Linked DNA regions of Homo sapiens: all the other regions are linked to region 7. The links are contacts of gene promoters, found by promoter capture Hi-C in blood cells and fetal thymus (Javierre and others, 2016). All regions are on one chromosome and are shown on one strand. Each heading gives the region's core, a stretch centred on a gene start or on the middle of the fragment in contact. The rest is flanking DNA. Distances are from core to core; before and after follow the strand shown. Region 1 overlaps TRAF3IP2 (TRAF3 interacting protein 2). Region 2 overlaps TRAF3IP2 (TRAF3 interacting protein 2). Region 3 overlaps LOC105377944 (a long non-coding RNA gene). Region 4 has its middle 25 kb from the start of TRAF3IP2. Region 5 overlaps FYN (FYN proto-oncogene, Src family tyrosine kinase). Region 6 overlaps FYN (FYN proto-oncogene, Src family tyrosine kinase). Region 7 holds the start of SLC60A2-DT (SLC60A2 divergent transcript).

What was found. The method cuts DNA at HindIII sites, captures the fragments that hold promoters and counts their contacts. A CHiCAGO score of 5 or more calls a contact.
Region 1: a fragment that was not itself captured here is called in contact with the fragment with the promoter of SLC60A2-DT in region 7 in 1 of 17 cell types (neutrophils); the score reaches 5.3 in neutrophils.
Region 2: a contact is called between a fragment that was not itself captured here and the fragment with the promoter of SLC60A2-DT in region 7, in 1 of 17 cell types (neutrophils). The highest score is 5.0, in neutrophils.
Region 3: a fragment that was not itself captured here is called in contact with the fragment with the promoter of SLC60A2-DT in region 7 in 1 of 17 cell types (neutrophils); the score reaches 5.4 in neutrophils.
Region 4: a contact is called between a fragment that was not itself captured here and the fragment with the promoter of SLC60A2-DT in region 7, in 1 of 17 cell types (neutrophils). The highest score is 8.9, in neutrophils.
Region 5: a contact is called between a fragment that was not itself captured here and the fragment with the promoter of SLC60A2-DT in region 7, in 2 of 17 cell types (naive CD4 T cells and non-activated CD4 T cells). The highest score is 5.7, in naive CD4 T cells.
Region 6: a contact is called between a fragment that was not itself captured here and the fragment with the promoter of SLC60A2-DT in region 7, in 1 of 17 cell types (endothelial precursors). The highest score is 6.3, in endothelial precursors.

What each region holds. Positions count from the first base shown.
Region 1 is chr6:111,580,377-111,583,659 of GRCh38, reverse strand. It overlaps TRAF3IP2 (TRAF3 interacting protein 2), which reads left to right. Exons shown (of 9, transcript NM_147686.4): 3 at 3,271-3,283. It also overlaps TRAF3IP2-AS1. Among named protein-coding and RNA genes, the nearest start is that of TRAF3IP2, 24 kb to the left of the region's middle. The HindIII fragment of the contact is 9,291 bases long and covers 1-3,283 here.
Region 2 is chr6:111,561,580-111,565,072 of GRCh38, reverse strand. TRAF3IP2 (TRAF3 interacting protein 2) reads left to right here. Exons shown (of 9, transcript NM_147686.4): 8 at 2,034-2,108. It also overlaps TRAF3IP2-AS1. Among named protein-coding and RNA genes, the nearest start is that of TRAF3IP2, 43 kb to the left of the region's middle. RefSeq lists an enhancer at 2-674 and a silencer at 2,540-2,740. The HindIII fragment of the contact is 643 bases long and covers 1,111-1,753 here.
Region 3 is chr6:111,647,218-111,650,860 of GRCh38, reverse strand. All of the region lies in intron 2 of LOC105377944 (a long non-coding RNA gene), which reads left to right. Among named protein-coding and RNA genes, the nearest start is that of TRAF3IP2, 43 kb to the right of the region's middle. The HindIII fragment of the contact is 3,246 bases long and covers 1-2,969 here.
Region 4 is chr6:111,628,550-111,632,239 of GRCh38, reverse strand. No RefSeq gene overlaps it. Among named protein-coding and RNA genes, the nearest start is that of TRAF3IP2, 25 kb to the right of the region's middle. The HindIII fragment of the contact is 952 bases long and covers 1,906-2,857 here.
Region 5 is chr6:111,704,077-111,707,703 of GRCh38, reverse strand. FYN (FYN proto-oncogene, Src family tyrosine kinase) reads left to right here. Exons shown (of 14, transcript NM_002037.5): 7 at 3,602-3,627. Among named protein-coding and RNA genes, the nearest start is that of TRAF3IP2, 100 kb to the right of the region's middle. The HindIII fragment of the contact is 4,924 bases long and covers 1-3,627 here.
Region 6 is chr6:111,686,387-111,689,647 of GRCh38, reverse strand. All of the region lies in intron 12 of FYN (FYN proto-oncogene, Src family tyrosine kinase), which reads left to right. Among named protein-coding and RNA genes, the nearest start is that of TRAF3IP2, 82 kb to the right of the region's middle. The HindIII fragment of the contact is 2,901 bases long and covers 419-3,261 here.
Region 7 is chr6:111,257,635-111,261,157 of GRCh38, reverse strand. SLC60A2-DT (SLC60A2 divergent transcript) reads left to right here and starts at 1,946. Exons shown (of 3, transcript XR_001743807.2): 1 at 1,946-2,034. It overlaps SLC60A2 (solute carrier family 60 member 2), which reads right to left and starts at 1,819. Exons shown (of 4, transcript NM_153369.4): 1 at 1,431-1,819. The coding sequence starts at 1,457. LOC124901378 (a long non-coding RNA gene) reads right to left here. Exons shown (of 2, transcript XR_007059708.1): 2 at 3,448-3,523. RefSeq lists enhancers at 1,710-1,789, 2,110-2,169. The HindIII fragment of the contact is 14,878 bases long and covers 1,250-3,523 here.

The DNA of each region.
Region 1 (3,283 bases), core at 463-2,962, 320 kb before region 7:
TTATAATGTAGAATCAGTGGGAGCCCTGAGCTTGTTTTCCTGCAGCTAGATCTGGGGGTGATGGAAGACAGTGACAGATCATCAGGCCTTGGATTCTCATAAGGAGCGTGCAGCCTAGATCCCTCATGTGCGCAGTTCACAATAGGGTTTGCACTCCTGTGAGAATCTGCTGCTGATCTGACAGGAGGCAGAGCTCAGGCGGTAATGCAAGTGATGGGGAGTGGTTGTAAATACAGACAGAGCTTCACTTACTCACCCACTGTTTACCTCCTACTGTGTGGCCTGGTTCCTAACAGGCAATGGACTGATACCAGCCTGTGGCCTGGGAGTTGGGAGCCCCTGGTCTAGGAGACCTGTGCCCTAGAAAGTATTAATAGATTGTGCAGTCCTAAATGGCTTCTCTTTTTCTGTAAGTTGGCTTTGTAACTATTGAGCCTTCATTCATTCATCTATTGAGCATCCCCTGGGTGCCAGTACTATCCTTGGAGACATGGTGGTAAGAGGACACAGTCCATGCTTTCACAGAGCTTATATTCTAGTAGGGAAGGCAGGCAAGAAGTTGACAGGTAAAAGTCATGCTTACTTATGCAAACCCATGATAGGAACTACGAAGAAAGCAAAATAGGGAATGGGATAAAGTAACTGGGTGAAGAGGCAGGACTCTTTGGACAGGTGATATTTGGGCTGAGCTCTGAATGGCAAGAAGTCAGTCTGTGAAAATCTAGGGCAAAAACATTCTGGACAAAGAGGGTGGCAAACTCAGGATCCCAAAGGAGAGGACAAGTTTGGGATATTCAAAATGAAGCCAGAGCTTAGTGGGCCAGTGAGAGTGTAGTGGGAGGCAAGATCTACAGGGGCGGGAACCTGATCTAGCAGGGTGGATTGTAAGTGCAGTCCACCAAGACGGTTCTAGCTACAGCTGGGTTTGTAAAGGGTCTGCTCATGCAAGGCTCATTGAAAAGCAGGGCTGGCCCCTACCTGGGGACCTGATAGCAGTGGCATTTTTTGCTATTTTTTAAACTGAGGGAAAGGAGCAGTAGTGACTTGCTCTGTTGCCCTGAAACTGCAACTGGTGATCTGGACCCCCTGGAATATATCCGCCCTGCCCTGAGAAGGCTGCCAAGGTGAAGCCTGTGCAGTAGACCTTGTCCTAGACCATAGGAGTCTCTGTGGGCCTGTCTTCCATTCTGAGAACAGTCCCTTCAAGTCCCAGTCTCCTTTGTCATCCAGGTGCAGGGATAGATCTAGGCAGATCTGTTTCTCCTCCTCCCCCTCTTTAAACCCCTACTACTTGTCATGACCAGGCCTAAGCAATATCAGGGCAAGGGTCATGGGGTCCTGCCAGGAGACAGTCTGGGATGGAGGGGCATGGTCACTTTTGCCAGAAGAAGCATGACTGGAAGGACCCAGGTGGTGACATGGGTCAAAGGAGACAATAATAGATTGAGTCCAGGGAATCTGACCACACTTGAGAGACTAGCTTGGGCACATCGCCAGGTCACCCAAACAGTTTCCTGAGTCTAGGCACTGGGAACCTGGAGGAGGCCACACTAGTGAACGTGCACATTATTTATCTCTTGTTCTGTACTTGAGGCCATCATTCCCCTGAATGTTCCTTTGAAAACGTAGATGGCTCCTGACTGCTTTGCCAAGCTAAGAATACAGTTCTTTTTTTTGTTTTTGAGACGGAGTCTTGCCCTGTTGCCCAGGCTGGAGTTCAATGGCACAATCTCAGCTCACTGCAGCCTCTGCCTCCCAAGTTCAAGGGTTTCTCCTGCCTCAGCTTCCTGAGTAGCTGGGGTTACAGGTGCGCGCCATCACACCCAGCTAATTTTTGTATTTGTAGTAGAGATGGGGTTTTACCATGTTGGCCAGGCTGGTCTCGAACTCCTGAACTCAGGTGATCTGTCTGCCTCGGCCACCCAAAGTGCTGGGATTACAGGTGTGAGCCACCACGCCTGGCCTTAAGAATCAATTTTTATCCACATTCTCAGCTTCTCATTTTGGTTTCAACCTATCAGTCACTTTTTTGTTTACTTGCCAGTTTTATTTTGCTGTACATCCATATATGTATCCTATCTACATGGCAGGCAAACTTGATTATTACATTTATAATCAGCAAAATAATTTTAAGATCAATGAGGGTTGATCTTAAAAGAATCAAAATAATTTTAAGATCAATGAGGATTTTTAAAAAACAAAACAAAACACCTTCCTTCTTGTCCTAACTAGTTACGCCTCCTCCTGGATCGTCTTACTGCTTATGTGGGTAGGAGGGGCAGTGCTTGGATCACTAGGAGGTGCTCATTGCTCATCTTGCAGGGCTACCATGTGGCTCACTTCAGTCCTCTTGCATCTCTCGTATTTCCCAACACCTTACCCCCTTTGGGCCTGGGCCATTCCCTCAGAGCCCTTCCCTCTCACCCTTACTTGGTTCCCTGCATCTCTCCTCTGGGCTTTTAGTTCTATTCTTTTGCGTGATTAAGCATTAGGTCTCTCCTATGCTTAACTCTGGCAGCAGCAGGCTGCCCTTCCCTGGGGACCCTCCTGCTCCTGGTCCTGGCTGGGACCCACTTTCTCCCAGGTTGCACATTCACATAAGTCACTGCCAGCTCTGGCTTTGCTCTGAGCCCAGCCCTCTTCAAGCAGCCCTGGCTCCAAGTGCACGTAGGCTGTAGCAGGAGAGGACCAAGGGAGTTGGAGGGTATTGCCAGTTGGTTGGCTAGTTCCCAGGAGGATGAGCCAAGTTTTCATTCATTTACCTCTTCTTAAGAGGAGAGTGGGGTGTGTGTGTGCGCGCACGTGTGTGTGCACATGCACGTGTATGTCCACTTGGGGGAGGAAAATACAGAGCAGTGATTCTATATCTATCATACAGATAATTTTTCCTAGCCTTGGGTTCGGGACATGAAGGAAATTGTGGTAGGAATGGTGGTGTGAAAGAGGTTCTTCATGGTTGGATTTTCCTAAGTATCTTACGAAAAGAGGAGCCTGTGTAGAGTTTTTTGAAAAGTTTTTTGAGCTCTCCAGCTGGAATACCAAACTGGTGATTTCGCAGATGTTTTTATTTAGGACAAAAAAAAGTGAATTTCGTGAAAACACTCAAGTAATTAACAGTAGAGAAATACGGCAAACATCACAGAGGTGGTAACAGATATCTGGACCCCTCAGCTGGGATCAAGACACAAATGAGCATGGAGCTTATGACTCCTTTCACACGAAGGAGCTAGAGTTGATGTTCCCTGTTGTCTTTGTTGTCTTCACCTACAGATGGCCATGACTA
Region 2 (3,493 bases), core at 183-2,682, 300 kb before region 7:
AGGCTCCCTCCTCTTCTGGTCTCAACCAGTCTCACAGCCCTTGTACAGTGCCCCGGAAAGGTATCATTCCTGGGAGTAAACTGCCTGAAAAGGTCATGGCTGGCTCGGGGTGCTGCCGGCCCTTGGTTGTCTGATGCATGTCTGCATGGCCTCAGAGCACCCAATGTCCTGTCTGCATCTCTAGGAACCTGCCAGTCCCAGAAGCTGACAGCTGGTGCGTGGGAAGGGCTCGAGGCCTCAGCCAGTTCCTAAGGAAACCTGTCTAGCTCTGTGGGTGTGTGGTGTAGCCAGGCAGTAATACACAGCTTGGCCTCAGAGCTTGTCTGACTGTACCAACTGGAACCAAACTGTCGCCAAACTTGGTTTCTTGGGCCACAATGTCTTGGGCCCTTACTCATCATAGAAGGGGTCGAAGAGGTCAGACACAGAAGTGCCTTCCTGACTGCCTGGCTGACTTCCTGCACCCCTCTAGGCAACAGAAAACCCTGGAACAACAAGAACTTGGCCATGACAGAGGTAGTGCAGAGGTACTGATGAGTAACTGCATCATACAGTGAATTAGTTTACAGAAACTCAGTTTCTGGAAGGGTGAGAGAAAATAAAAATGCACTGCTGCTGGCTGGCCCCTCCACAGGCTGGGCAGCCTAGTGCACAAGCCAAACTTCACAGTATACGGAGTCCTAGAAGTCAAACAAAACTCAGTGCTTCACTTGTAACTTATGCACCCCATCCCCTTCCTTTCATGTGTACTCGGTGCTGGTGTGGTGGGTGCTTCTAGCTGCACAGTACTTGGGTCATTTTAAAATATGTTCTTGGTGTTATCTTATGGTTTTTAGAGAGAGGTGGTTCCGAAAAAACACCTTGTGGAGGATTTGTGTGTGTTGTGTGATCGTGTGTGTGTGTGTGTGCGTATGCAACTATGTGAGAGTGTGTGTTTATGAGGGGTTTCTATGGTGATTTCAATAACCAGCTATCACCACTGTCACTTTCTTCTCTGTTCTGTTATTTCCATGCACAATGAAAACTTCTCAGTTATAAAAATGAATTGGAAGATGAAATGGTTGGAAACACATAATTCCTCGTCTCCTTCTCATCAGATGACTGAAAGCTTTGTGCTGGTCACAGGATTTGGAAGACTCTAACTCCCCTCCTATTGAAAATTCTGATTTTTGAGAGAGTTCTTGGTAGCTAAATCTTCTTGGGCTACCACAGTGTCAGAGCATATTGGAACTGGTGTGAGGAACCTAAAGCCTGGCAGATGGAGCTCTTCGCAATTGACATCCCCTCTCTGCCAAGCCCATCTTGTGCTCTAGTCACAGTGCATTAGTAGCTGGTCCCAACCACATCAACACACTTTCACACCTCCAGACATTTGCTCATGCTGTTGCCTCTGCCTCTGTTTTCCCTACTTGACCAAAATCTTTTCTTTCAGTGCCCAAATGAACCCTCTTTTGTAACTGTCCTTCCAATCTCTGATGTAGAATGGATGGCCCCCATTCTGGGCTTCTAGAGCAATTGTTAATACTTTTCACCCGGCACTCTGGTTGGTAATTTCCCTTTCTGCCTGCTCACTAGACTGCTGGCTTTGTGAAGATAGGGACTGTATCTGTGGTGTTCTGCTAAGCTGGCTCTCCTGATTTGTAGCACTTACCTATTTCCATGGTATAAATACTCTCCAATACCATCGCCAATTTCAAGCTATCAGTGTGAAGTCACTGAACACAGAATTAGGAAGAGATGCACACAACAAGCTTTTGTGAGCTGCTGCAAGCCAGTTCCAGCATACCCTGGAAGGTATCCTAATCCTTAAAACCCAAAGTCTGACATAGAATGTGACTTCTAACAGGCCTCCAATAAACGACTGATGAGTGAATGGAATAGATGTGTAATGGGGAGGCCTTAAAATGTTAAGTGTGTGGCACTCAAGTATGGAAATCAGAATAAAAATGCCATGTGGACGTGCATGATTATGGGTACCATTAACTCCTCATCCTCATTCCTGAAATTAAACCTTCACATTTGTTTGGTTTCAGATGCAGATTGAGTTCATAAAACAAGGAAGCATGAATTTCAGATTCATCCCTGTGCTCTTCCCAAATGCTAAGAAGGTAAACAAACAAAGAAACAAAATCCTCATAATTCAATCTTTGGTTTGCTTTGCCATCTGGGATTTTAAATGGAAAACCTTGTCCATTCTTTTTTTCTTTCTTTTCTTTTTTTTTTTTTTTGAGATGGAGTCTCGCTGTGTTGCCCAGCCTGGAGTGCAATGGCGTGACCTTGGCTCACTGCAACCTCTGCCTCCTGGGTTCAAGTGATTCTCCTGCTTCAGCTTCCCAAGTAGCTGGGATTACAGGTCCCTGCCACCAAGCCTGGCTAATTTTTTTTATTTTTAGTAGAGATGGGGTTTCACCATGTTGGCCAGGCTGGTCTTGAACTCCTGACCTCAGGTGATCTGCCTGCCTCAGCCTCCCAAAGTGCTGGGATTACAGATATGAACCACCATGTCTGCCATCAATTCTTTATCAATCCTTAGAGATAACAATGTTACCAGAAAGATCAACAAGTTGTACCACTCAGTTCAGCAGTATGAATCAGGAGGGTTTTAAAGCTATCTGATAGGATCACTGCTGTCCTAATTGTTCAAAGAACCGTTGCACACAAAGATGTAGTTTCTGTTTTAACTCAAGAAAGAAAAAGAGAAGGTTCATGTCATACTTCTTATCTCTTGTACATAAAAGTCAAGATGTGTATGGTTTTTGCTGGCTGTTCCAGGGAGGCATTTCATTGCACATAGTTCAGCTCTCAAAGCTAATGATTACAGGAATTAAATCTATAGTTACCTGAGTGAACTTTGCCGTGATTCATATGAGGCTTTTCACACCAGAAGGGTCTGCCAGCAAGTTTGGAGAATGGGGGCAAAACCACCTGAGGCCACATTCCATGCTTGGCAAAGGGAAGGCAGTGGTGGAGTAAACATGTTGAGAATCAGACCACAGCACCCTAAACTCAGGCCCTGTTTCACCCTGGAGGGATCCTCAGATGTCAAGACTGCACTGAGACCCCTGCCCTGGATGAGGGAGGCTCCAGTTTATGGGAACGGGACACCTCAGGCTGTATGGTGCACAGCCTGTGCGATGGCACACCTTTCTATCCTCCCTGCGCTGCCTTTGCCCAGGGTCTCACTGCTGTCACTTACTGATGAGTCTCCTTACTGGTCTCATCTCCACTTTGACCTTGTGCTAGCCATCCTCTCCTCTGCCATCAAAGAGGAACATCCAAAATGTAGGTCTGATCTGTTTCTTGGTAGCTTACAAATTTTGTGCCGTTTTCCCATTGACTACAAGATCATATCCACCTTTCTTAGCACGATCTATGAGGCCTCTCAGAAGAGGACTGTGTCCCCTTGCGTAGTTTTCTCTCATCACCCTCTGTAGATGCTGTGTGCTCTGGTCACCCTGGACCATTTCAGCATGCCCTCACACATGCTGTGTTC
Region 3 (3,643 bases), core at 97-2,596, 390 kb before region 7:
GAGGTGATAGCACCCCTGACAGATTGATTTTACCACATTCTGGGAGCCATCCTCGGAGGCCCAGCCTAGAGCCCTCTCTTCCAGCCTTTCCAACAAGTTTGCAATTCTTCATGTTATATTCTTTTTTGCTTAAAAACTCTAGCATGGTTTCTATTTCCTACACAGAACCCTGTAACAGATATCCAGGTGATCCCAAAGTTTTGTCTCTTCTCAGTCTTTCTTTTGTTCTTGCTTGTTTGCTTTCTCTCATTTAATCATTCCTTTAATAAATATTTATGGAATGTCTACTATGGGCCAGGCACTGCACTAGACCCTGGAGAAAAATCGATGAACTAAGCAGACATGGCCTCGCCCTCATGAGATGAGGCAGGGCAAAGACCATGAGGCAGCAAAAGACAACCCTTGGGTCCAGTCGGCCCCTGCTTGTTTTTGTATATAACGTTTTCTTGAAACACAGCACACTCATTCATTTATGTCTTGTCCATGGCTGGTTTTGCCCAACAATGGTAAAGTTGAGTAGTTGCAACAGAGACTATATGACCTACAATGCCGAAAATACTTACTATCTGGCCTTTTTTAGGAAAAGTTTGCCAGCTCCTGTATTAGATAAATAAAACGCCAAGTCATACTCCTTTGGTTCCCCACAGCCAATAAGTTGCTCTTTCTGTCAATTCTGCGGACACCAGGGGTCCCCAACCCTTGGGTCATGGAGTGGTACCAATCCGTGTCCTGTTAGGAACCGGGCCGCCCAGCAGGAGATGAGCGGCAGGTGGGTGAGCATTACTGCCTGAGCTCCACCTCCTGTCAGATCAGCAGTGGCATTTAGATTCTCAAAGGAGTCTGAATCCTATTGTGAACTGCATGAAAGGGATCTAGGTTGCAGGCTCCTTATGAGAAGCTAATGCCTGATGATCTGAGGTGGAATGGTTTCATCCCGAAACCCTCCCCCCACCCCCATGCCCACCACCAGGCTATGGAAAAATTGTCTTCCATGAAACTGGTGCTGGTGCCAAAAAGGTTGGGGACAGCTGGCAACACCACAGCACCATGCATGGTGCTAAGCACTTCATGAGAATCCTCTAAGTTAATTCTCAGAACAACCTTTGGGATACATTATTATTATCTCTGTTCTACAGACAAGGAGACTGAGATTTAGAGAGATTTGGGCTTAGGTGACTGGGAGGATGGTGATATGGAAAAGGAATAGAAAACAGGCAGAAGATGACAAGCTCAGTCCGAACTCACAGCACATGAGGCACCTGCAGAGAGGCACACGGGGCTATCCCGGTAGGTTTCAGGCTTGGTGTGAATTTCAAGTCTGGACAGCTTTTAAGTTCAAATCACAATTCTACCATTGACTAACTAGCTGTGTGACTTTGGGCAAGTTACTTCACTTTCCCTTCTGGCTTCTTTTATTTTTTATTTATTAATTTTTTTTTTTTTTGAGATGGAGTTTCACTCTTGTTGCCCAGGCTGGAGTGCAATGGTGTGTGATCTCGGCTCACTGCAACCTCTGCCTGCCTGGTTCAAGTGATTACCCTGCCTCAGCCTCCCGAGTAGCTGGGATTACAGGTGCCAGCCACCACGCCTGGCTAATTTTTTGTATTTTTAGTAAAGACGGGGTTTCACTATGTTGGCCAGGCTGGTCTCGAACTCCTGACCTCAGGCGATCCACCCACCTCGGCCTCCCAAAGTGCTGGGATTACAGGCTTGAGCCACCACACCTGGGCTATTTATTAATTTTTTAAAGAGACAGGGTTGCTCTGTCACCCAGGATGGAATAAAGTGGTACAATCATAGCTCATCACTGTAACCTCAAACTCCTGGGCTCAAGCCATCCTTCCACCTCAGCCTCTCTAGGGGCTAGGACTACAGGCATGCACCACCACACCCAGCTAATTTTGTGTGTGTGTGTGTGTGTGTGTGTGTGTGTGTGTGTGTGTTTTCTTTGGTCCAGGCAGGTCTCAAACTTCTGGACTCAAGTAATCCTCCCACCTGAACCTCCCAAGGCACTGAGATTACAGTTTTCTCATAAATAAAATGGGCTCTTGTGAAAACTAGAAAAAGTAATATGCAAACAGTATCTAGCATCATAGGGGCTAGGTACACAGATACATGTGCCAGGTATATGGTACGTGGTATATGTTTGATACGTGTTGGCAACTTCTCCTTCCCCTTCAGTCTTATCCTTCACATGGTAGAAAGTAATCTTCCAGAATTACAGCTTTAATTATGTTATTTTCCTCCTCAAAAAATGTGGTAGTTCCCACTGACCCCCACTGTCATGGAAGGAGACCTGTTTGGAGGACCTGCCCAGCCACGCCTCTTTCTTTCAACTTCCACACACACTATCCCCTCTATTGAAGGGTGAGCACAGTAGGTTGTGTTTTCACTGTATAACACCCCCACCCTGCCCCCGACCAGAACAGCTGATATTTGAGGGGTAGACACCTGACCAAGGGACAAACAGTCCATTGGCCACTGGCTAATCAAATTGTCTCTGTCCAGTTGGATCCAAGAATCAAGAGACCGTGGTGACAGATGCTTGGCCTGCAGGTTGGCTTAAGTCAGGGCTAGAGTTGCCCTATGGGTGATCAGATGACACAGCGTGCAGAGAGAAGCAGTGGCAAGAAACCATGGGCCACCAGAGAGAGTGACTGGGAATAGCTACTGTCCACGCTCTAGCATCTGGAGGTCCAATAGCGCTACCCCACATCATTTCTGTGAGATTCCTCTGAAGCATTGTGTACATCAGCTCTTTACTTGAGCAAATCCAAGGGAGTTTGGTCCACTACAGTCTGGCTCCACTGTCTGGCCAGGCTCATCTGTCCCATCACCTCCACCATCACCCCTGCCTTATCTCCTGGCTACACTGAGTTACCCACAACTCTGCAAGCATGCTCTGCACTGCTCCTTTCTTTCCTCCTTCCTGGACTGTTCTTTTTCCCTCCCTCCTCTTCTTAAAAGCTTATCCACTCTTTGAGACTCAACTCAAATGTCTAGTGATGGCCACCCTCTGAGAACGCCCTGCTCCTGGCTCTGGTCTTTTGAAGGCAGTCACTGCACAGCACTGCTGGCTGCAGTTGTTAGCATACATCCTTGAGTTTTGCTCCTTGCCACTAAGCTCACTGAGGGTAGGAACCTGGCACACATTAGGACTGATATATGACAATGAATTTAATCCAAGGATTGGAATCCTGAAACACAAGCTGAGTTTCTTCAATAAAGAGAATTGTGCCAGTAGAAGGCATTGTTCGTTAAAATGGAAATGCATTTAGAGAATACTTCAGATTAAAGGGATGAAGATCAAAGGGCACATTTTTGGCCAGGAGTTCTGAGTCTTAGAGACCCAAATAAATTGTAGACTTTTTATTTCCTGAATTGATTGGAACCATAACACTGGATTTGGTGCTGTAATATAAAACTTTCTGGAACTTTTAGCCTGGTGGGAAGGCTCTGCTGTAAGCGTTAGGATTGCTCTTGTCTAAAATTAAAGCACCCACGCCTATTGCTGAAACTGGCTAGTACACATGGAAGGCCTGATTTAGACTTCCACGGTTGATCAGGGAACCATCAGAGCCCTACCTTAGCTGAAGTTACAGACATACCCTGCTTCAGACTTATCAGGAGAGGGTGTGTCTAT
Region 4 (3,690 bases), core at 1,132-3,631, 370 kb before region 7:
GCAGGGGTCATTGCCCCAGGTGGCCCTCAGCTTTCTCTGAGGCCGCATTGGGTCCACAGCTCTCCCTTTATTGTGCTGGCTTCCCTGGGGACCCCTGCTGCCCTGGCTTTTTGAGAGAGATGTTCCAGGTCTAACCCAAGAGTATCAATTTACATTTCCTCAAGATGACACTCCTTCCTCCAAACTCCACCCACCACCACCCCGACGCGGCCTCGCCTTCAGGCTTCCAAGGCCAACATCCACTCTTTCCTGGGAAGTAATGATTTATAACATGGGCAGCCTGGCAGGTGCCACAAGGAAACCTGCCAAGGCTCCTGTGGTTTGGGACTTCAGTGTGTGAGAAGTCCTTAACCCTGTAGACTTCAGGGTCCCTTTCGTGCACATACATCAATGTGTGCAATCTCACTAAGTCAAAGACGAAGCTGGAGGTGTGGATCCTGTGGCACATCCCGGGGCACATCGAGAGTGGGGGCGCTGATATTGATTTCAGTGTAAAAAGCCCCTAAAAATGTTTGATTTAGTGAGTTCTTTTGGAGATTCTCCATCCCAAAACAGAATTCTAAAGTAGAACCACATACTCATGTGTCAATAGACAGGAGAATAAAATTCTCTCTCTCTCTTTCTCTCTCTCGCTTCCCCCTCCAGCCTCCTTCTTTCTAACCCTGGTTTCTCTGGAATTGACTAAAACCTCCAAAAAGGGAGTTAGAGGGTGCTGCCTTCAGTGTAACAGATTTCCTATACTGAGCACATTCCATAGTAGGAAAAGCAGCTCCAAGTTTGGATTTGGGATCCTAGGTGCTAGCATGGGACTGGCTCTCTCTCTCTCAGATCCTTGTTTTGTGTGTTCTGTTAGGGGCTAGCAAGGCCTCCAGCTGATATCATTTGCGATCCAATAAAGGGGGTGTTTGAGCACACCAGCCCAGCTGCCTGTCACCACAGGGAACCATGCTTTTTCCAGAACCAAATTTACGTCCATCCTCCATAAACTTTATATTGTGCCATGCTGCTGTTAAAAATGATTTACTCACGAGGTGTTGGATCACAGGATGCAGACCTTCAGGAAATCCGTGCTAACTCTGTGGGCGTCACATAAAGAAACCACCTGAGGGTCAGGGCAGTTCTCCAGAGGGTCTTGAATCTCAGCGGTCAGGGGATAGCTTCTCCCCAGCTGAGGTCTCAGAGATGTTCTCTGGCTGACTTTATAGCCTGACAGCTGTGAGATCAGAGGAGGCTGCAGAAGTAGATCTCACTCGTTTGACCTGGAAGGATACCTATGTGCAGTATCTTTCCTTTTTCATCCATTCATACCCCAAAAAAGTCCATATATATTCGGAGGTTATCTGAAGGGGAAAATGGAGGGAAATGTGTGTGTATATAGTCATTTAATATACATATTTAATATAAATATACATTTAATATAATTTAAATATGAAAAATAAGGCACTTTAAAAATATTTGTGCATTATATGTGACCAAGTCTATTTCTGCTCATCAGTGAACAATAGAGCCCAGACCTTGGAAGCTCTTCCAGTGGGCAAACAGTGTGGACCCGGGTGGAGCTACCTGACAGAGTGGGGGCTGGGCTTTAACAGGGAAAGTGGTCCCTTCCGTCACACATTCTATTGTGTGCCTCCATGTCAAGCCTCTTTATACAAATAACTAATTCCCAGAAGCGAGAGAAGAACATGCCCTGATGTTTTATTTTCAGAGTGTCTTTGTCTATTCAGTGCAGTGACCGGTTTGCCACGATTTGCCCTCCACACTGGGCCACAGTAAATTACTTTGGGACTCAGACATCCCACACCTAACATACATAGAACCAAAGAGAATGTATGATCTAGCTTCCTCATTCTGACAAGCTCAAACTAAAGGAATAATGAGTACTATCTCTCTGCTATTTAAGCTTAAGAATGAGACTGTCCTAGGGCTCTTAATTTGCACAGTGTATCAGTCAGGGTAATTAACACTAGCTACAGTAATAAAAATTCCAGTAATATCAGAGGCTTAACACAATTCAGTCATACTCTAGTGCAGTGTGATTTGAGCAGCTCTCCAGAGTATCTCTCCTCTAAGTTATCACTTGGGCTTTTTTCACCTTAGGGCACCACCATCCCCGAGAACTCCTTTGGAGCCTTCTACTGGATCCCCTACCTTCATCTGGCCATCAGTGAACTGATGGTCTAATGGGATGTTTTAGGGGCCAGATCTGGAAATGGCTTTCTGCTCAAATTCAATTGACCAGAACTTGTTGCATGCCCCACCTAGCAGCAAGAAGTCTGGGGAATATTTTCTCTTCGTGTGCTTGAAAGCAGAAATGGAATTGGTGGCAACTAGTCAGTCCTAGACACACCTAGGAATGGAGGTGAACTTGAACTAAGAGCTCAAGGCCTGACAGCATCCCTTTCCTGCCTTGAAGCAGCATTTAATAATCCCATCAGTTGTGATATACATTTATGTCATCTATATAGTGTGATTTGTGGACCATTAGAAAGCTCTTCATCTCCAAAATACCTTCACTAGCCTGCTTATTCTGGAACTTTACCATTAGAAATTCATCCCATTGGGTTCAACATTGCCTTGATCTTTTCTTTCTCTTTTACAGTATGTGCTGGTTATAAGTTTGTGGCCTCTTGACTTTAAATTCACCATTCATTGCATGATCTTCAAAAATGGAGCTGTGCCCTTCAGATATTTTTCTCTTGCATCTGGCACAATGTTAAGCTGTGTGTATATATGTTTAGTCATTTAAATATATACTGTGGTTTGCGGCTTCAGTAGAGGGGTCTGGGGAGACACTGCAGGAGGAAGGGGTTTCTGTCCTGGTTCCCTTATGCTTGCTTGGCAGACACCTGAAGCTTAGCAGGCTCCTGTGGCACAGGCTGCTTCTCCTATGCCTGGCTCCTATAATGCATGGTGACCAGAGGCACCCAGTGGCCAGCAGCTTCCTGGGCACTTCACTCACCTTGGGTGGTTTTGTTGCAGAATGCATCTGGTACAATATCTTCCTGTGATCAGCTTTTCCGGACACCCTAGAGGATGGATTTCCAGGAAGTTTCACCTCTCTGTTCTCTCTGTCATCCCCTATGCCAGAGCTGAGCCTTCAAAAAGTCTGGATCTCAGCCCTGGGGGGCCTCTTTCTTGGCCTCTATCTCAGCTCTAAAGGTAGTGGCTGCTCCTTATAGCTGCCATTCGGATATTCTTTAGAGTTCTTTTTACATCTTACCAATCAATTCTTTGTTACTTTAGTCTCCTGTTATAATGAGTAATTCTTTATATTACACTTTCCCTGTTCAAACTACTGTATAGTTTCTCTCTCTTGATTGCATACAGACTCATATAGAACACAAATGTCCTTGGGGTAGAACTCACAGGGAGTCAATGACACTTTAGTGTAAAATAGTTTGTTTTGTTTTCCTGGCACCTAGAGAGCAATAGTTGCCTTGGAGCTGAGCGAGGGGACAGTAAGAGGAGAAACACCCAGCCAGAGATGATGGGAAAATCCTAGTAAAAAACTTTGCCTATTTCACAATTTTGTCATGAGCTTGACTATAGCTGTTAAGTGTTATTCTTTATTTCAGTGCAAAATGTCTTTGGTTCCCTAGGGTCAGGCTAACAGCGCCAGAAATAGAATGAAAGCACTAGTTTTTCTGGTGAAGCAGCAACTATTGTACTTTGATAAGCTTAGTACGT
Region 5 (3,627 bases), core at 519-3,018, 450 kb before region 7:
TTTCTATCAATACCCTAAATGAAAAGCCAGTAAAACTTGTCATAGATTAAAAGTAGCCATAAAAATATGAAATGCTAGCTAGAGCATATATTATTGCCAACCCAAGTTTCTAAGCCCGCAGTCCACTCCCTCTGTTGGGAAGAGAGGGGAGAGTAGCAAGTAATTGCCACAGATTAAACTAAGATTTTTCTCCTAAGTGTGATCAGAAATATTAAAAGAGTGCTGAAAAGACACCTTCTATGCCCGGTAAAAGTGACTCACATACAGTGTGTCCCCCCAACTTGGGAAATACTACAGTGATTTGGAACCTCAGTTGGCTTCTTTGGTAGTAAACAGTGACGAGCAGTTATTTGGCCCAACTATTCAACTGGTAGCAGTTTAGGAAGGTGTTCAGTAGGCTGAAGGGATCTAAAAGGGATAACCTTTCTCCCTTCTTCTGACCCATGAGGATTAACAGGCACTCCCAAGGGGAAGAACTGCCAGTGGCTGTTTGCCAGCCCTGAGGGAAGGAGAGATGGAGCCATGATTTCCCAAATGCAGGAACTTGGCCTCCTCCTGACACCTTGGGTCTTGCCTCTCTAAAAAGGAAGTTGAGAAAAGTCAGTCACCAAGCCCAACCTTTGGCTCTGCTATTTAATTTCACCATGGATTTGTTTAAGTAGTGCAAGAGGGATTAGACTCCACACCCTAGCCAAATCCCCAGTTGGATTGTTCTATTCTTTAATTCCTTTGTATTTCCTCTAAGAGGATCTGTTTTGTTTCCCACTCTCAAATACTCAGTGGTTCTTAGTTGTTTCTTTCTCCTAGTGACTGTGTTTCGTCATCAGTGAATCAAGGTATTTGTATTTAATTTGTATTTTAGGGCAGATTTGCAAACATCTTTGTGTTCTTTCAGAATAAAAAGTACCACCAAAATGTAGCATTACCCTGATTTAACTGGGAATTTGTCAGCTATATATTTAAGTTATTTTTATAATGGTCAACTTTTTAAATATTTTGTTTTTAAAGAATATTATTTTTTAAAATAATGCCTTCGGTTTTACATATGCAATTAACTATCATTATCTTAAAATACTATTGTTTTGGTGCAATCCATTGTTCTAACAATTCCTTTTTCACCACTGTTTTACACGGCATTCTAATTGGGTTATTGGTACAAACCCAGAAAGCCATTTCTCACAAATAATTGACGTACTAGTCTTTACGCCACCTAATGCTAGATTAAGAATTGTTGCACATTTTGGTGTTTCTAAAAGTCACTGAGGAGCTAATACGCAATGTCTCTTTTCTTCAGTGAAACTTAATTCACAAAAGAATTTGACAGTGAACTCATGATACCTATATTCAAGCATAATGAATTGAAATTTCATTTTAGAATCTGGATTCTTTCACAGTTAAATATTCTAAAAATGGTTCCCACACACAGATTCCAATTGAATGCTCCAGCATTCTCCCTTGGGTTTTGGGGGCACCTGCTGCTCATTCAGCACCTAGTGCTGAAATAGTAACTAATTGCCAGGCTTGGTTAAGGCTTGAAAGTGCAGGGGGAGGATATAAGGCAAATAACAAAAGTCTTGAGGTGACTTAATGTGATGCCTCCTAAAGTGGCACAGAGTATCATTAGTTTCTTCAGGGATAATATATTGAAATATCTGCAACACCAAGTCATTTTAAGGGCATGCTTTTTGACTGGGCACAGATCTCAAAGGTGTACAGTAACCAGTTCTTACAGTTGTGCCAAAGAAAAGATGTACAGGGTCCACCGTGATGGCTCCCTCCTGTAATCCCAGCACTTGGGAGGCCAGGGCGAGAGGATCACTTGAGCCCAGGAGTTTGAGACCATGCTGGGCAACATAGGGAGACAGTCTCACTCTGTCCCCAGGCTAGAGTGCAGTGGCCCTGTCTCAGCTCACTGCAACCTCCACATCCCTGGTTCAAGCAATTCTCGTGCCCCAGCCTCCCGAATAGCTGAGATTACAGGCACATGCCACCATGCCCAGCTAATTTTTGTATTTTCAGTAGAGTTGGGATTTCACCATGTTGGCCAGGGTGGCCTCGAACTCCAGACCTCAGGTGATCTGCCTGCCTCAGCCTCCCAAAGTGCTGGAATTACAATCATGAGCCACCACTCTTAGCCTCTACAAAAAAAATTTTTTTAGTTAGCAGGTGTGGTGATGTGCACCTTTAGTCCCAGGAGGCTGAGGTAGGAAGATTGCTTGAGCCTGGAGAGGTCAAGGCTGCAGTGAGCTATGATTATGCCACTGCACTCCAGCCTGGGTGACAGAGTGAGACCCTGTCTCAAGAAAAAAAAAAAAAAAAGAAGAAGAAGATGATGAACACAGATCACAATCCAGGTGCTTGGTAAATAAATGCCTTTACTTATCCAAGTCCTCACACACCTAGGGGAGGAAAACAAAATACAAGTAAGTACTCATGGGCGTTTTTCTCAGAATTCTTATAGGGAGGAAGTTATTGAAAATACTATTCCTTTATTCATATCATATCTATCTAATCTGACTTTTTTTAATGCTTGATTATCTTCATATACATTAAGACTGTGTTTTGTTATTTCCCAGCAGTTACAATAATGCTTAGATATCAAGAGATTCAAGAGTTTTGTTTTTTTGTTTATTTTTTGTTATGAGACAGAGTCTCGCTCTGTTGCCCAGGCTGGAGTGCAGTGGCGCAATCCTGGCTCACTGCAACCTCCACCTTCCAGATTCAAGCAATTCTCCTGCCTCAGCCTCCTGAGTAGCTGGGATTACAGGTGCATGCCACCACACCCAGCTAATTTTTTGTATTTTTAGTGGAGATGGGGTTTCACCATGATAGCCAGCATTGTCTCCATCTCCTGACTTCATGATCCACCCACCTTGGCCTCCCAAAGTGCTAGGATTACAGGCATGAGCCACCATGCCTGGCGTTTGTTTTTTTTGTTTTGTTTTGTTTTGAGACACGGCTTTGCTCTGTCACCCAGGCTGGAATACTATGGCACAATCTCAGCTCACTGCAGCCTGGGCCTCCCAGGTTCAAGTGATTCTCCTGCCTCAGCCTCCCGAGTACCTGGGATTACAGGTGCCCACCACCACACCAAGCTAATTTTTGTATTTTTAGTAGAGCTGGGGTTTCACCATGTTGGCCAGGCTGATCTCAAACTCCTGACCTCAGGTGATCTGCCCACCTCGGCCTCCCAAAGTGCTGGGATTACAGGTATGAGCCACCATGCCCAGACTAGAGTCTTTTAGATAAGTGTGGAAAGGGTCTCCTGCAGTAACCATTTCAAATCAAGGTCTTAGATTTCTGGTTTTTTGCATACAGGTGGCAGTTTTAACACAAACCAGTTCTGGTCATGTCTAGAGGGGAGGAAAACAACCCACAACTCAAATCTGATTTTTTTTAAAGAGTGAAAGAGATGAATTAGGGATAGAATCCAGGATAGATTGAAAAGGAACTGAATTAAGCTAGAAAAAAAATACATCCAGGGAAAGGTTAAGGACTAAATTGGAGGAGAGGGGAATTCATGGGCAAAAAAAAAGCCTATGCTGTTGCATTTTGTAAATGACTATTTCAAAATATTTTCTTTCCTTGATCTAATTTAAAGGTGGTACTTTGGAAAACTTGGCCGAA
Region 6 (3,261 bases), core at 620-3,119, 430 kb before region 7:
GTGAGATTCTTCCATATTGCTGCATGGAACAGTAGTTCTTTTCATGGCTGAGTAGTATTCCACTGTACAAATATATCACAGAGCCTCCATTCTACTGTTCCTGAACATTTGGGGTTATTTCCAAATTGGGGCCATTATAAATACGGCTGCTGTGGTGATACACACATGCCCTCATCTCTCTGGGCTGTGTTCTCCAGTGGAATTGGTAATTACAGGGCAAACCTAGGTTAGCAATTGCAGTTACTGCCTAACAGATTTTGTGGACATATTTTTAAAAAGGTGAATACACACTTAGTGTGTCATTTGCCAGTACTGTACTTGCCTCTAAGCTGCTAGTGAGGCAGCCTAGTGAGACTGAGGAACCAGGGGTTGGACATTAGGATCCCTGGCTTTGAATCAGCTCTGTCACTTACAAGCTTGGTGTCCGCAGGCCAGTTACTTAAGCTCTTTGAGCCTCATTTTTATCATCTGTAAAATGGTGATAATAAAAATGATCACCTCACATCATTAGTGTGAAACTTACATGGGCTATCTATAAAAGTTCTTTGAGAGTTGTGAAATGTAAAAATCATCCTTATCACCTCAACTTTTTGTATTTGACATACATTTTCCTTGAAAACAGTCTAAAAAGTTTTTAAAGAGAATCACTATTAGTAATAAATAGGGAAAAAATCAATCTTTCAAGAAAAAAAATACTGTCTCCCTATTTTATAGCCTAGGCCAGTCAGTGGATCTGGGCAGTCACCACTTTGATATACCTGCATGCTCCAAGGGCCCCCTCACCCCGGACACAGCGGGGAGTCACACATCCACTGTCCTCATCTCCGGCCAGCTTGCCTATTTTCTCATATTTGCATTCTCTGTTGAGAACTATCCCTGCCTCTGCGCTGCCTCTCTTGTTTTTAATCTTGTGAAGTCTGAATATCAGATGGGCCTTCTCAGCATTTTCACTGAGGCATGTGCATACACACATCAACATGAGCACACATGAGCACACACACGCTGCATGAGCACACACACGCTGCGTGGGCACGGCTGGAGCAGTTCTCCCGAGTATCTGTGGAGTCGGTCTTACTGCTTCTCTATAGAAGTGATTTAGTTTAAAGACTAGCAGCGGGCCCTTGTAGACACAGAGCACATAGTAGTATTTAATAAATATTTGTTTACAGCAATGGAAATAACCAAGGTCACCAACCCCCCCACACTCTTGTGAGACATGCTCTCCTGCTGTCTCTCATCAATGTGCATGGCTCTCTCTGGGAATCAAATGCTGTTGTGGCTGCAGGAACCTCCAGAAAGGGTTGTTTATTGCATTGATATTCCTTGCACACTCCAAGATTGTCTTTGGAGTGATGGGAAGCACAAGAGCTTTGGAGCTAGATAAGCCTGTGTTCACATCCTGACGCCGTATTCCTAGAGCATAAGTTCTGGCCCCTCTGAGCCTCACCTTTCTCATCATAAAATAGGATTGGTGTTGGTTACCTTTAAGGTGGTTGTAAGAATTCAAGAAGACAATTAGTAGAAGTTGTTGGTATTATTCACTTCTTCCAGCTCCTCCCCACAACACTTTGGAGTTTTTTTGTTCTGTTTTATTTTGGTTTGTTTTTTGTTTTTTGGGTTTTTTTTGGATAGCTTGACCTCTTTTCTTCTTCCCACATACACCTCAGTCCCCTCCCAAAGAGGGCAGGGCCTGGACTGGTTAAGAGCATGACCCATGAGATCAAAGTGTCTTGGTATAAATCCTAGCATTGCTGCCAATTCACTGTGAGACCTTGAACAAGTTGCTTAACCTGTCTGAGCTTTTATTTCTTCCTCTTAAAATAGGGATAATAATAGTTATCTATATCATAGAATTGTATGGCTTCCCTGTGAATAACCATAAAGCAGTTGGCACAAAGCCAACACTGAGCTGATAGTGGTAGTTGGCAGTAGTAGTAATAGTAATATTATTATAATATTGATCCAATGGATGCCAATAGCTGTGTTTCTCTCTCTCTCTCTCTCTGACACACACATACACACACACACACACACACACACACCCACCCACCCCACTTTGGGTTTTCCTGATCGCTCCCATCAGGGCTCCTTCCACATGGAGGCTCTGCCTCTATCATCCTTTCTCCTGATTTGAATCCTCATGAAGGACAGGAACTGGGGTTGCTCTATGGTTTTGGTTGGTTTGTTTTTTAAGTTCAAAATTAATGAAACAAATGTCAAGGAAACATAATCTTTGGATCTTTGGACTGTAAATAAAAATAGGAACATTCGGGTCTTTGTATAAGACTGCTGTAAGTTTAGGCTTATGTATTAAATAGAAGAAGAAAAATGTGTCTGTTCAAATGCTCCCAGTATTGAGGGTTTAAATTGAATAGATTATTGTCTGGAGGAAAATTCAAGTATAAATTAGACTACGAAGAATTACTAACTGTTGCAGTTTTCATGTTAATTATTTCATGTTAAAAAATTGTTACCGCATAAATTAACACATTCTTTCATAGAAAACATATTTTAGAAAGATTTGTTACTTTAATAACTCTTTGTGTATTAGAAATCCCAGATGCCTGTACTAATTAAATATAATCAGATTTTAGATTCAAAAAGCACAGTAGCCATTTAACACAAACAAGCAGGCAGCTAGGTTGACAAACACACTCAGGAAGAAGTGGATCCCTGTTTCTTTCGAATTTTGAATTTCACAATCCAGAACTGTGAATTCAATTCCTGTCCTTCCTTTGTATTACAACGACTGGGGATTATTAGACTCAGAGCGCCAGCTTTCCAGCTCAAGGGCTCCTGCAGAATTATTAATCAGCCGCTTCTGAGGCCCCTGTAATCCGGTGGCAGATCAAGGCTGATCTCGCCGTGAGATGCCCTCCCTCTGCCCCCGTCAGCACATGAATTTCTTGTTCTCTGTCAACAACAGCATTGCCATTCCCGCACAGTGTGCTGTGACCTGAACAGCAAATATCAGGAGAGAGAAAAGGAAGAAAAAAAAAACCTTTTTAATTACTGAATTTAATCTAATTCTTCCCATGCTAGAGAAGCAAACCATCCTTTCATGAAAAGCAAACCCTTTAAAATGCAAGCCATTGTCTTAAGCACCGACTAGTGTGTTCCCAACTCAGTGGTGCCGCCATAAAATGACCATGCCAACCCCCACCTCCCCAGCCCACATTGAGAGTCTATCATCCTGAGGGCTGTCTAGGGAGAGACCCCAGGGGACTTGCCCGACAGAATGCCCTGCCCTCCGAGGTCAGA
Region 7 (3,523 bases), core at 697-3,196:
TAAAGGTTGCTTAAAAAATATTACACGCCCAAGTACAGAATGACTTTAACAATAAAACTTTACTCAATGCAGTGTCAGCAAGAGGTAAGGATTACAATTGACTTTCAGAGGAAATTCATTGGACATTTAAAGAAAAAAATGTTTCCAATCAGTCTACATTTCCAGAATAACTGATTCTAATTGCCCTGCTCTGCTCTAAATGCATGGGGTGCGCCCCCTGCCCAACTCGTAACAGTCCAAGACCACGGACCACTATGGGCCCAGGTGCACAGCAAGCACCTCGTACTTCGAGAGAAGCCTGAGCACAGAATCTAATCAAATTAGTTCATGTCTTCAAAGGATTTACAACAGGACCGGACAAGTCAGTGACGACTCACCAAAAGTCTGAAGTGATTTCTTTCTTCACCCCTCCCCACCGCCCCCAATCAAAATACTCTAAGAAACAACTGTGGCTCAGAGTCCCTGAGATGGTAAGTGACCACACATGACTCTTGGGAGGACTCATCCTCTCAACTCCCCCAGGATCATAATTATCAAGTGATAAGGAGGAGGTTTCCGAAAAGTGAATTGAGTGGCGACCCAGGGGTTTGGCAAAAGGCGCCTCTAGGCTTGCCCTTTGCTCCAAGAAAAACATTTAAGAATCTAAAGGTTGGTTTTATTAATAAATAGGATGGTGGGCAGAGTAAAAGACATATTTCTGGCTCTATCACTTAACCAGCTGTGTGATCCAGAAAGTCACTTTCCCCTCCGGGCCTATTTCCTTATCTGCAAAATTAAGCGGTTGGCTGAATTTGGTCAGATCACCAGGAAGAAATTCCAGAAAAGTAGTTTTTCTGTGTAATAATTTGGGGGTTGAGTGGGTGGGTGCGGAGAGCAGCGGCCAAAGACCTGGTGAACCCCTCTTGCAACCTTCCCATCCGACGAAGGAGACGTAGGAAGGCTTGCCGGGCCGGGCGCCGTGGCTCACGCCGGTAATCCCAATACTTTGGGAGGCCGAGGTGGGCGGATCACCTGAGGTCAGGAGTTTGAAACCAGCCTGGCCAACATGGCGAAGCCCCGTCTCTACTAAAAATACAAAAATTAGCCGGGCTTAGTGGCAGGCGCCTGTAATCCCAGCTACTCGGGAGGCTGACGCAGGAGAATCGCTTGAACCCTGGGGGCAGAGGTTGCAGTGAGCCGAGATCGCACCACTGCACTCCAGCCTGGGCAACAGAGCGAGACTCCGTCAAAAAAAAAAAAAAAAAAAGCTTGCTGGAGCTGAAAGACGTATTCAGAAAATCTATTTCCTCCAAGATTAGAATTGTGCCCATTTTCTAGATGATGAAACTGAGGCCCAGTCAGATTAGGTAACGCGCCCAAGGTCAGTTTGCAAGTGGCGAAGGCAAGACTCGAACGCCCCGGCCTGGGAGTGTTGCAGCCCCGGCTCTCACCAGCCCCAGGAAGGAGGCACACAGCATCAAGGTGGTGAACCACCGCAGCTTGCTCCCGGTCCCACCGCTCTGCCAGGAGACCACCACCACCTCCGGCTCCGGCTCATTCTCCGCCGGGGCCTCCGCCTGCAGGAGCCGCTGCCCCGCAGCCGGGGGCCCGGCCCCACGGAGCTCCACCTCTAACTCCAGCTCGGCGGCTCCGGAGAAGTCGTCTTGCTGCCGCCGCGCTTCTCAGCAGAACTTCTGGAGCTCCGAGAAGAGCACTGGCCCCGACCCCAGGCACGGGTGTCCCTCCGGGCGCCACCTCCCAGCGGACCGCCCGGAACCGGGGCAGAGAAGAGGAACTTCGGCACGCCGCAGGTGTTCGTGGCAAAAGACGCTCGCTCTCCAGCAAGCAGGCGCATGCGCGGGTCACGTGGCGGAAATGTGGCCTCTCGCCAACCGCTATCGTGCCTCAAGCCGGAAGTTGATATGGTTGCCTAGGAGACCGGACGTAGCTCTCTAGCCTAGGCATCATACTTAGCTGAGCTCACAGAGGCTGGCGGACGTGCGCCCCATGGCGGAGCGAGCTGAAGTTGCAGCCTGGGACCAGGGAAATCAAGAGGTAAAAATGCGGCCAAACCATTATGAGGAAAAGGGGCCAAGAATTACACTGTAGCGCCTCGCGCCGGCTCCCCGGTCTCCTGGGGAGCGAAGGGAGCCTGAAGAGCTGGTCCTTATACAGCTTTCTGAAATCCCTGAGATCTGTCAATGAATCGCGCATCTTTCACTCCACAAGTATTTGTTGAACGTCATTGTGTAAGTTATCACGTATATTATCTCAACCCTCACAACACTCCAAATTCCACGTTATCCCCGTTGTACAGATAGAAAGATTAAGTCATAGAAAATAATTAACAATCTGCCCAAGCTCAGTCATCGAATTAGTGGCCGTATATAAACAGTGTAACAGTAGCTCAAGAAAGAAATCGGGATCCAAAGCTGTGGTTTCAAACACAATTCCTGAAATAATTCCAATTCCTGAAATAATTCCATCGTTGTAAAGAAGTGGAGCGTGGCATCGATTTGAGGAATTTTTTTTATATACTTTAAGTTTTAGGGTACATGTGCACAACGTGCAGGTTAGTTACATATGTATACATGTGCCATGTTGGTGTGCTGCACCCATTAACTCGTCATTTAACATTAGGTATATCTCCTAATGCTATCCCTCCCCCCTGATTTGAGGAATTGTTTTCCTTTTGCTCTTTAACAAAGCGTACCACAGCCTCAAAATGTTATATACTTTTCTTTGTGGTCTATTTGAAATGTTCTTTTCCACCTGATTCTTCCAACTTTCATCCACTTAGGCTCCCAGACTACAAACCTTAGTCTCATCATCCCTTGCAACCCGTCTCTCCAGACTTATTCGTTTAGTCATTAAGTCTTCCCCCCACCCGCACCCCCACTTTTTTTTTTGTTTGTTTGTTTTCTTTTTTGAGACAGAGCCTATGTCGCCCGGGCTGGAGTGTTGTGGCGCTTTTTGGTAGAGACGAGTTTTCACCATGTCGGCCAGGCTGGTCTCGAACTCCTGACCTCAAGTGATTCGCCTGCCTTTGGCCTTCCAAAGTGCTGAGATTACAGGTATGAGCCACCATGCCCCGCCAAGCATTTCTTTTTTATTTATTTATTTATTTATTTATTTATTTATTTATTTATTTATTTGAGACGGAATCTCGCTCTGTCGCCCAGGCTGGAGTGCAATGGTGCGATCTCGGCTCACTGCAACCTCTGCCTCCTAGGTTCAAGCGATTCTCCTGCGTCAGCCTCCTGAGTAGCCGGGATTACAGGCGCGTGCCACCACGCACGGCTAATTTTTTTATTTAGTAGAGACGGGGTTTCACCATGTTGGTCAGGCTGGTCTCGAACTCCTGACCTCATGATCCGACCGCCTCGGCCTCCCAAAGTGCTGGGATTACAGGCGTGGGCCACCGCGCCCGGCCCGCCAAGCATTTATTTTAGAGCAGGTCAGCTGGCATTCCTTCATATGAGAATGTCTTTATTTCACTTTGATTCCTGAAAATATTTTCACTGAAAATAGAGTTCTGGGCTAA